3 separate regions of the Homo sapiens genome follow, and regions 1 and 2 are each linked to region 3. Evidence: promoter capture Hi-C in 16 types of primary human blood cells and fetal thymus (Javierre and others, 2016). All regions are on one chromosome and are shown on one strand. The core of a region is centred on a gene start or on the middle of the fragment in contact, and the rest is flanking DNA. Distances in the headings are between cores, read along the strand shown. Region 1 overlaps NTAN1 (N-terminal asparagine amidase). Region 2 overlaps MARF1 (meiosis regulator and mRNA stability factor 1). Region 3 holds the start of RPS15A (ribosomal protein S15a).

Region 1 (2,700 bases), core at 11-2,510, 3.7 Mb before region 3:
TACTTGGGAGGCTGAGGTCGGAGAATCACCTGAGTCCACAAAGTCAAGGCTGCAGTAAGCTGAGATCACACAACTGTGCTCCAGACAGGGCGACACAGCAAGACCCTATCTCAACAACAAAAAGAGAACAAGAAAAAAAACTACATGCCTCGCCCCCTAGCGGTCCCCACATCTTCCTGGCCTCGTTTTCTCCACAGCCCCGCCTCACCACCCAACACCCCATCTTGTGTACAGTCTCTCGGCTTCGGAATACAAACACCTTGGGCCGGGCTTTCTGTCTACTCTTCACTGCTGTGTCCCTAGAAACTACAAGGTGTAGGTGAGAGGAAGCATTTAACAAGCAACTGCGGGAGGAATGACTGCATGGAGAGCTACCACACCCGGGGGAGAGCAAAACGATGTGAAAATCGCAACCTCGACGTTCCTGAGACGACATCAAGTTCAAAGTCAAGCCTTCCATCTCAAATCCAGCACAGACTCCTTGCCTGTGCCCAGCACCCACTCATTCACTCAACCACTGCTGACGCAGTGCCCACGTCGTGCCAGGTTCTGTTCCAGGGGAACGAGGCAGACACGGCAGTGGTGGCATCCTGTGTTCCCCTAACAGCTTCCACAGCCACGTCCTGTATGCGACGGTTCCAAGATCTCAATTCACCTATGAGAGCAGCGTAGATCTCACCTTCCACATTGAGCGTGGTCAGAAAAGGATTTTATGGAGTTCATGATCAAGGGGACCTCAGCTTTGGTGTCGGTTCCGTCACAATGTGTCAAGCAGGTGGCCCCATTACCTGAAGAACAAGGGTGAAAGGACTCAAGTTATTCCCTGATGCGAGTGCAGTGCGCAGGCCGAGACTCCGCCTGTCCCTCCGGACCGCCTCATCTTTGAATATCCTGTAGGGGAAAAACGGACAGGTCTGTGCTCCCCAGCCAACCCATTCTGACCAGGACACCAGGGAGACACCATGCAGACCAGAAAAAAGGTAAGCGGAGTCCGCTTCCAACAAGACACCAGGAAACTCAACACGAGAAATTCAATGGTCCCAAAGGTTGGGTCAGTTTAAGTAATGGTTTCCTTCACCTCTCTCATCATACCTGTGTGCCTCAGGACCACAATGTGACAAGTAGTGGCATCATCAGAACCCAGAATGGAGATGGAGCCTGTTTAAAAAAGAAATAAAATAAAATATCCAATAGCCTTTTGGGATAACGCCCAATTCACTGCTTCCTAACCTACCATCCTTTGGGGAGGTCACTGCAAGCTCTCTTTGCTGAACATACAGAAGGCCCTGGGGTCCCACTTGTTGAACAGACTGACCTCTGAGAAGTCTGGCTCTTTCCTGTTTAATTAAAAAAAAAATAAAATAGTGATGTAAATTAGTGAGGATGGAAAAACTAAAGATGTGGAGAGAGCCAAAGTGGGCTCTGCGTGGGCAGCACGCTAGTGTGTGGGGAGTGTGTTAGTGGACAGAGAGGCTCAAAGAAAAAGGCAGCAGCCACGGTCATTCAGAACAATGCAGAGAAAACGATGCGGTTCTGCGCGGTGGTTTTTTTAACCTATGAAATCGGATGTCATAGTAACCTATGAAATGAGATGCAAAAATCCTTTATTATAGTTTTTTGTTTGTTTGTTTGTTTTTTAAAGACACAGGGCCTCACTATGTTGCCCAGGCTGGTCTTGAACTCCTGGGCTCAAGCAATCTTCCTGCCTTGGCCTCCCAAAGTGCTGGGATTACAGGCATGACCCACCACACCCAGCTATCACAGTTCTTTACTAAAGAGTGTGAGACTCTTAACAATTTTACCATTGTAAAGAGAATCAGATTACACAGGAATAGTGGATGGATGGCTCTGAAATCACATCCCCTCTTTTTTATTTTTTGAGACAGTCTCTCACTCTGTCACCCAAGCTGGAGTATAGTGGTACAATTTCAACTCACTGCAGCCTCCACCTCCCAGGCTCAAGCGATCCTACCACCTTAGCCTCCCAAATAGCTGGGACTACAGGCTTGCACCACCACACCTGGCTGAGTTTTATACTTTTTGTAGCGACGGGGTCTCCCTATGCTCCCCAGGCTGGTCTCAAACTCCTGGGCTCAAGCAATCCACCCACCCTGGCCTCCTAAAGTGCTGGGAGTACAGGCACACACCACCACACCTGGCTGATTTTTATACTTTTTGTAGAGATGAGGCCTCCCTATGCTGCCCAGGCTGGTCTCAAACTCCTGGGCTCAAGCAATCCACCCACCCTGGCCTCCCAAAGTGCTGGGAGTACAGGCACACACCGCCACACCTGGCTGAGTTTTATACTTTTTGTAGCGACGGGGTCTCCCTATGCTCCCCAGGCTGGTCTCAAACTCCTGGGCTCAAGCAATCCACCCACCCTGGCCTCCCAAAGTGCTGGGAGTACAGGCACACACCGCCACACCTGGCTGATTTTTATACTTTTTGTAGAGATGGGGCCTCCCTATGCTGCCCAGGCTGGTCTCAAACTCTTGGACTCAAGTGATCCACCCACCTTGGCCTCCTACAGTGCTGGGATTACATGCATAAGCCACCATACCTGGCCTCCGCTTTTTTACCTTAGTCCCTAACCTAGTAATTTCACTTCTGGAAATCTGTCCTAAGGAAATAACTCAAAATATGTTCATCCCTGTGTTATTTCTTTTATCTTATTTTTTTTTTTTGAGACAGAGTCTCGCT
Region 2 (2,714 bases), core at 92-2,591, 3.2 Mb before region 3:
GAAACCCCATCTCTACTAAAATACAAAAATTAGCCAGGCATAATGGCGAGTGCCTGTAAACCCAGCTACTAGGGAGGCTGAGACGGGAGAATCCCTTGAACTAGGGACAGTGGTTGCAGTGAACCCGGATCGTGCCACTGCACTCCAGCCTAGGGGGCTGAGCCGAGACTCTGTCTCAAAAAATAAAATCAAATAAAAGTTGTTAATACCCTTATATAAAATTATATTACAGTCTCACTTGAATCCCACATACAATAGAAAATAAGAAATAGAAAGGTGGTAACATGAGTGCATGAAGTCAGGAAATGTCAAAATTGGCTGGACGCGGTGGCTCACGCCTGTAATCCCAGCACTTTGGGAGGCTGAGGCGGGAGGATCACTTGAGGTCAGGAGGTCAAGACCAGCCTGGCCAACATGGCGAAACCTCGTCTCCACTAAAAATACAAAAATTAGCCAGGCATGGCAGCACAGGCCTGTAATCCCAGCTACTGAGGAGGCTGAGGCAGGAGAACTGCTTAAACCTGGGAGGCAGAGGTTGCAATGAGCCGAGATCGCACCACTGCACTCCAGCCTGGGCCACAGAGCAAGACTGCACCTCAAAAAAAAAAAAGAAAATGTCAAAATCACAATGAGTAAGCAAGAAGTTAGAGACATAAATGTATACTGAGAAGTAAATATTCAAGAGAAATCTCGAAATAAAAAACAGGCAGTGGATAAGCTCTTCCCAACCCTTCCTAGATTATAGACTCAAAACTCAAGAGGGCTACAGTAAAATACAACATATTTTGTATTTTCCTCTGATTTTACTCCACAATGTGGATTTTTAATCTTTGTTACCTGTGACTTTAATGAGGAAGAAATCTTTCCCAAATTTTAACATTAAATATTCAAGGCATCTACTGTTACTCAAAGTGAAATAGAAGAGTTAAAAAATTGTGCTGTGCTCTCACATTATAATGTGGTATAAGAGGCAATACAGGCAAGATCTACAGAAAAATGTGGCACAGACTCTAGGATGAGAGACTGTATCCCAGACCAAATGGACCTCTCTCATCTATTTGGATGAGGAATCTGCTACATCCTTAGTCTTGCATATAGTTACCGTTTGGGGACTATGTGGCAGCGTCTGCTCAGGACGAGAAAAGCAATTAGAGAATTTCCAAAGCCATGGCTTAGCATCATTATCTTGTTGAAGCCATCCACGTGTTCTACTGCAGGAGTTCTCAGTTCCGTTTCCTTCCATCATACAGCCATGCAAAGTGATTCAACATCCTTTCATCTTTCTTTTCTTTCATTCTTCCACCCTGTTAAGAATGAGTAAGATTTCAGTGTTATTTCCTTGCATAAGTACAAATTTTACAACATACTAAAATGTGAAACCACAGCTATATTTACAGTCCTATGGCTCTCAACAATTCAAATCTTTGTTTCAAGAGGAAGTCTCGCTCTGTCGCCCAGGCTGGCATGCAGTGGTACGATCTCAGCTCACTGCAACCTCCGTCTCCCGGGTTCAAGCGATTTTTCTGCCTCAGCCTCCAGAGTAGCTGGGACTACAGGAGCCTGTCACTATGCCTGGCTAATTTTTATATTTTTAGTAGAGATGGGGTTTCACCAAGTTGGCCAGGCTGGTCTTGAACTCCTGACCTCAAGTGATCCACCCTCCTCGGCCTCCCAAAGTGCTGGGATTACAGGCATTAGCCACTGCGCCCGGCCAACAATTCAAATCTTAACAAACAAAATAATAATAATAAAATAAAGAAAGAAAAAAACACAAAATATCAGAGCATATTACGGGTTAATAAAATTTGGTAAACTTGGTTGACTGTTTATGCTTAAAATCTAACTGCAACAACCTGATTTCTTAAAAAATCTATAATCTGCCATTCTTCATGTTTCATAGCTCTTCAAATAAAAAATGAACTCTCCATGAGTCTTGTTTCCTTTCCACATGTAACCATGTTTGAGAGAGGTAGCCATATCTTGGAAACTTGCATATTCCAGAGTGAGACTTCACCTCCTCACTTGGCTGGAATCAATTTTTTCTACAGTTTTTCTGAATTCTTTTCGGCTCTCTCTCCCTAAAGATGCTGCTCAGGAAAGTCAAAAGTTAACAGAAGAGAGCATCTAATCTGAGTAAAAGAGCCACCACCACATCCTCATTGACAACTATATGTAAGATTTTAAAATTGACTTAAGAGCAACTTCTTGCACTGGTTTCTTGATCTGAGCATGAAAAGTCCAAACTAAGTGGCCTCTGTGGACTTTGAATTTGATTTGCTACAGAACAAATTGAACCAATTTCTTAGTTTACTAATGATGAAAGTGCAATCTGATATACCACCAAAAATCTAACTGATAGAAAAATCTCAAGTCGCAGATGTGTTATATCTACGCCAGAGCAACAACACTCTTACAGGTCTTAACAATAAATGCAAGCGAGGCACCGTGGCTCAGGCCTGCAATCCCAGCACTTTGGGAGGCCAAGGTGGGTGGATTGCTTGAGCCCAGGAGTTCCCAACCAGCCTGGGCAACATGGCAAAACCCCATGGCTACAAAAAATTAGCTGAGCGTGGTGGTGCATGCCTGTAGCCCCATCTACTCAGGAGGCTATGGTGGAAGAATCACCTAAGACTGCGTAGTCAAGGCTGCAGTGAGCTGTGATTGCACCACTGCACTGCAGCCTGGGCGACGGAGTGAGACCCTGTCTCAAAAAC
Region 3 (2,715 bases), core at 116-2,615:
CAGCAGACTTACCATGCTTCATCATCACAGTGAGAAACCGGACGATGACTTTGGAGCACGGCCTAATAAGCACCTGGCGTTTGCCTCTCTTTTCGGCATTGTTGATACTCTTGAGAGCATCTGCCAGGACATTCATGCGCACCATTGTGGCTGTTCAAGGAAGACAAAACAGGAGGTTTTACTGGCATTGCCAACATCAACAGACACCAACCATTACACTGCGGAAGTATCCTTTCCTTTCTGGCCCCACCTTGGCGAAGTTTTCTCAAGTCTAAGCAGGCTGCTTCTCCATTTCCCACCACCCAGGAAAATTCCTATTTACTACGGTTGTTGAAAACAGGTTATCGGGACGTCAGCCTGCACATTTTGAAACTCATTCATTCACTAACCACTCTTCTTCGAATCGTGCCACACACCAACGTCTGGAGATAATAAAATGTGGGACAAAATCCACTTGACACAAGACAACGTGAGAACTGGCAGAAACTGCCAGCTACCGGAAGGAAAACATCGGGTATAGTCGATCAGTGATTCAGAACAGAAGCAGAGTATCATCGGCAACATTTTCCAAATTGCTGAAAATCAGCAGATTCCATACTATTAACATTGTACTTTAAATCAGTTCACTCTCACCTACAATGAACACATCTAACTATTAAACATCCATCTTCGTGCCATTTAAAATTGCGTCCAACAGCAAGAGCCACAGTGGCAAACAGAAACATTTTACATGCTTGTCAGACTGGACTCTCTTCTAATGGGCAAGAACCGCACACTACACTGAAGTTTTGAAAGACCAAAGTGCCAATAGTAAAGAGTAGAACTTAAATTCCTTAAGTTCAAAAGTGTCTAAAGAAAAACTCTGCGGCCCAGAAGATCCAAGTTGGCACCCAGCAAACTGCCAACCCCGGCACGATGCAGCTTTTACCTGCTGGGTGGCCTCAGCCTCCCAAGCTCCCAGCGCGGCCGCAGCAGTGAGAAGCTGCACGGCCCACCAGCCCCGATGTTGCCCGCCGCCCGGGGCCAAGGCGCTGCCTCAGCACTAAAGGGAGATCCAGACGCTGCGGCCCGAACCGGAGCTACCGCCTAGCTGGGCAGTCGAAGGCTCCGGCTCCCGCCCGCGCTGCGGCCTGCACCCCACGGACCGGGATCCCCTGAGTGCACAGTCTGGGGCGCCCAGCCATGGCTCTCCTCTATGCCTGTCCAGGAACCGGCAAGGCCAGGATCCTCGGCCAAGGTGGGGACCAGCCTCCTCGCAGGACACCGAGACCGAACCTTAGATTGCAGGATGGCGCCGATGGCAGACGGATGAAATTGGAGCTCTCAGAGAGTGCTACTCACCGGCGCGGAAAGATGGCGGAAAGAGGACGGGAGGGGAGAGCGCACGGAGTTATGGGAAGCGGGAGAGCTATCGCGAGACTTTCAAAGGCCCGGCAAAAACAAGGACCGCCTAGGAGAAGGACGAGGGTGAGGGAAAGGCGGAGCCTCCTCAGGGGTTGGCAGTTGAGAGTCGATGGAATCGACCTCCCCCGGTGGGGCCTGGGAGAGGCAAGGTGAGCCGTTCGTTGGAGGTTCGTCTACATTTTTTTTTTTTTTTTGAGACAGTTTCGCTCTTGTAGCCCAGACTGGAGTGCAGTGGCGTGATCTCGGCTCACTGCAACCTGCGCCTCCCGGGTTCAAGTGATTCTCCTGCCTCAGCCTCCTGAGTAGCTGGAACTACAGAGATGCGCCACCACGCCCGGCTAATTTTTGTATTTTTAGTAGAGACGAGGTTTCCCCAAGTTGGCGAAGATGTTCTTGATCTCCTGACCTTGCGATCCGCCCGCCTCGGCCTCCGAAAGTGCTGGGATTACAGGCGGGAGCCACCGCGCGGGCCTTAATTTTTATTTTAGTTTACTTTTGATAAGGAGTCTCGCTCTGTCGCCCAGGCTGGAGTCCAGTGGCGCGATCTTGGCGCACTGCAGCCTCCGCCTCCCGGGTTCAAGCGGTTCTCCTGCCCCAGCCTCCAGAGTACCTGGGATTACAGGCGCCCGCCATCACACCCGGCTAATTTTTGTATTTTTAGTAGAGACGGGGTTTCACCATGTTGGCCAGGCTCGTCTCAAACCCCTGACATCAAGTGATCTGCCCACCTCGGCCTCCCAAAGTGTTGGGATTACAGGCGTGAGCCACCACACCCGGCTAAAAATTTTTTTTTAATTAAAAAGTTAAGTTCAGACAAAAGTCACCCAACAGTTGTTTACTGAGCACCCATGTACCAGACGCTAGCAAGGCCCTGGGGTACGAGGTGCCCACACAGGCACCATTTAGCCAGTTCTGTCCCTGCCGGTTCTTCCAGCTTCGTCCTCTCTCACACGTCAATGCCCCTGCTCATTCGTTGCATTTCCTCTTCCCTCTAGCATGGTACCTGGATATTTGCTAAATAAAACTTAAACCTTTTATTTTTGTTCTTTTTTAAAATTTTTCCTAGACAGGGTCCTGCTCTGTTGCCCAGGCTAGAGTGCAGGGGTACACTCAGCTCAATGCAACCTCAAACTCATGGACTCCAGTGAACCTCCTGCCCAGGTCTCCCAAAGTGGTGGGATTACAGGTAGGGTACCTTATAGACATCTAAGGACCACACAGGGTACTTCATTAATCAGATTCATAAATCCAATCATAAATATTATATTGGCTAAGTTATAAAGAAAGTGAGACATGAAGATTCCAGCTTTT

Evidence for each region. The method cuts DNA at HindIII sites, captures the fragments that hold promoters and counts their contacts. A CHiCAGO score of 5 or more calls a contact.
Region 1: a contact is called between a fragment that was not itself captured here and the fragment with the promoter of RPS15A in region 3, in 1 of 17 cell types (neutrophils). The highest score is 8.3, in neutrophils.
Region 2: a contact is called between a fragment that was not itself captured here and the fragment with the promoter of RPS15A in region 3, in 2 of 17 cell types (fetal thymus and activated CD4 T cells). The highest score is 8.6, in fetal thymus.

Annotation. Positions count from the first base shown.
Region 1 is chr16:15,046,763-15,049,462 of GRCh38, forward strand. It overlaps NTAN1 (N-terminal asparagine amidase), which reads right to left. Exons shown (of 10, transcript NM_173474.4): 2 at 1,235-1,337; 3 at 1,093-1,158; 4 at 680-788. It also overlaps a transcript of PDXDC1 not described here. Among named protein-coding and RNA genes, the nearest start is that of NTAN1, 8.0 kb to the right of the region's middle. The HindIII fragment of the contact is 4,295 bases long and covers 1-2,700 here.
Region 2 is chr16:15,637,988-15,640,701 of GRCh38, forward strand. MARF1 (meiosis regulator and mRNA stability factor 1) reads right to left here. Exons shown (of 27, transcript NM_014647.4): 2 at 1,103-1,304. The coding sequence starts at 1,246. Among named protein-coding and RNA genes, the nearest start is that of MARF1, 3.8 kb to the right of the region's middle. The HindIII fragment of the contact is 6,127 bases long and covers 1-2,714 here.
Region 3 is chr16:18,788,969-18,791,683 of GRCh38, forward strand. RPS15A (ribosomal protein S15a) reads right to left here and starts at 1,366. Exons shown (of 5, transcript NM_001019.5): 1 at 1,276-1,366; 2 at 13-150. The coding sequence starts at 145. It overlaps ARL6IP1 (ARL6 interacting reticulophagy regulator 1), which reads right to left. Exons shown (of 6, transcript NM_015161.3): 6 at 2,701-2,715. RefSeq lists enhancers at 319-1,036, 974-1,603. The HindIII fragment of the contact is 4,087 bases long and covers 1-2,715 here.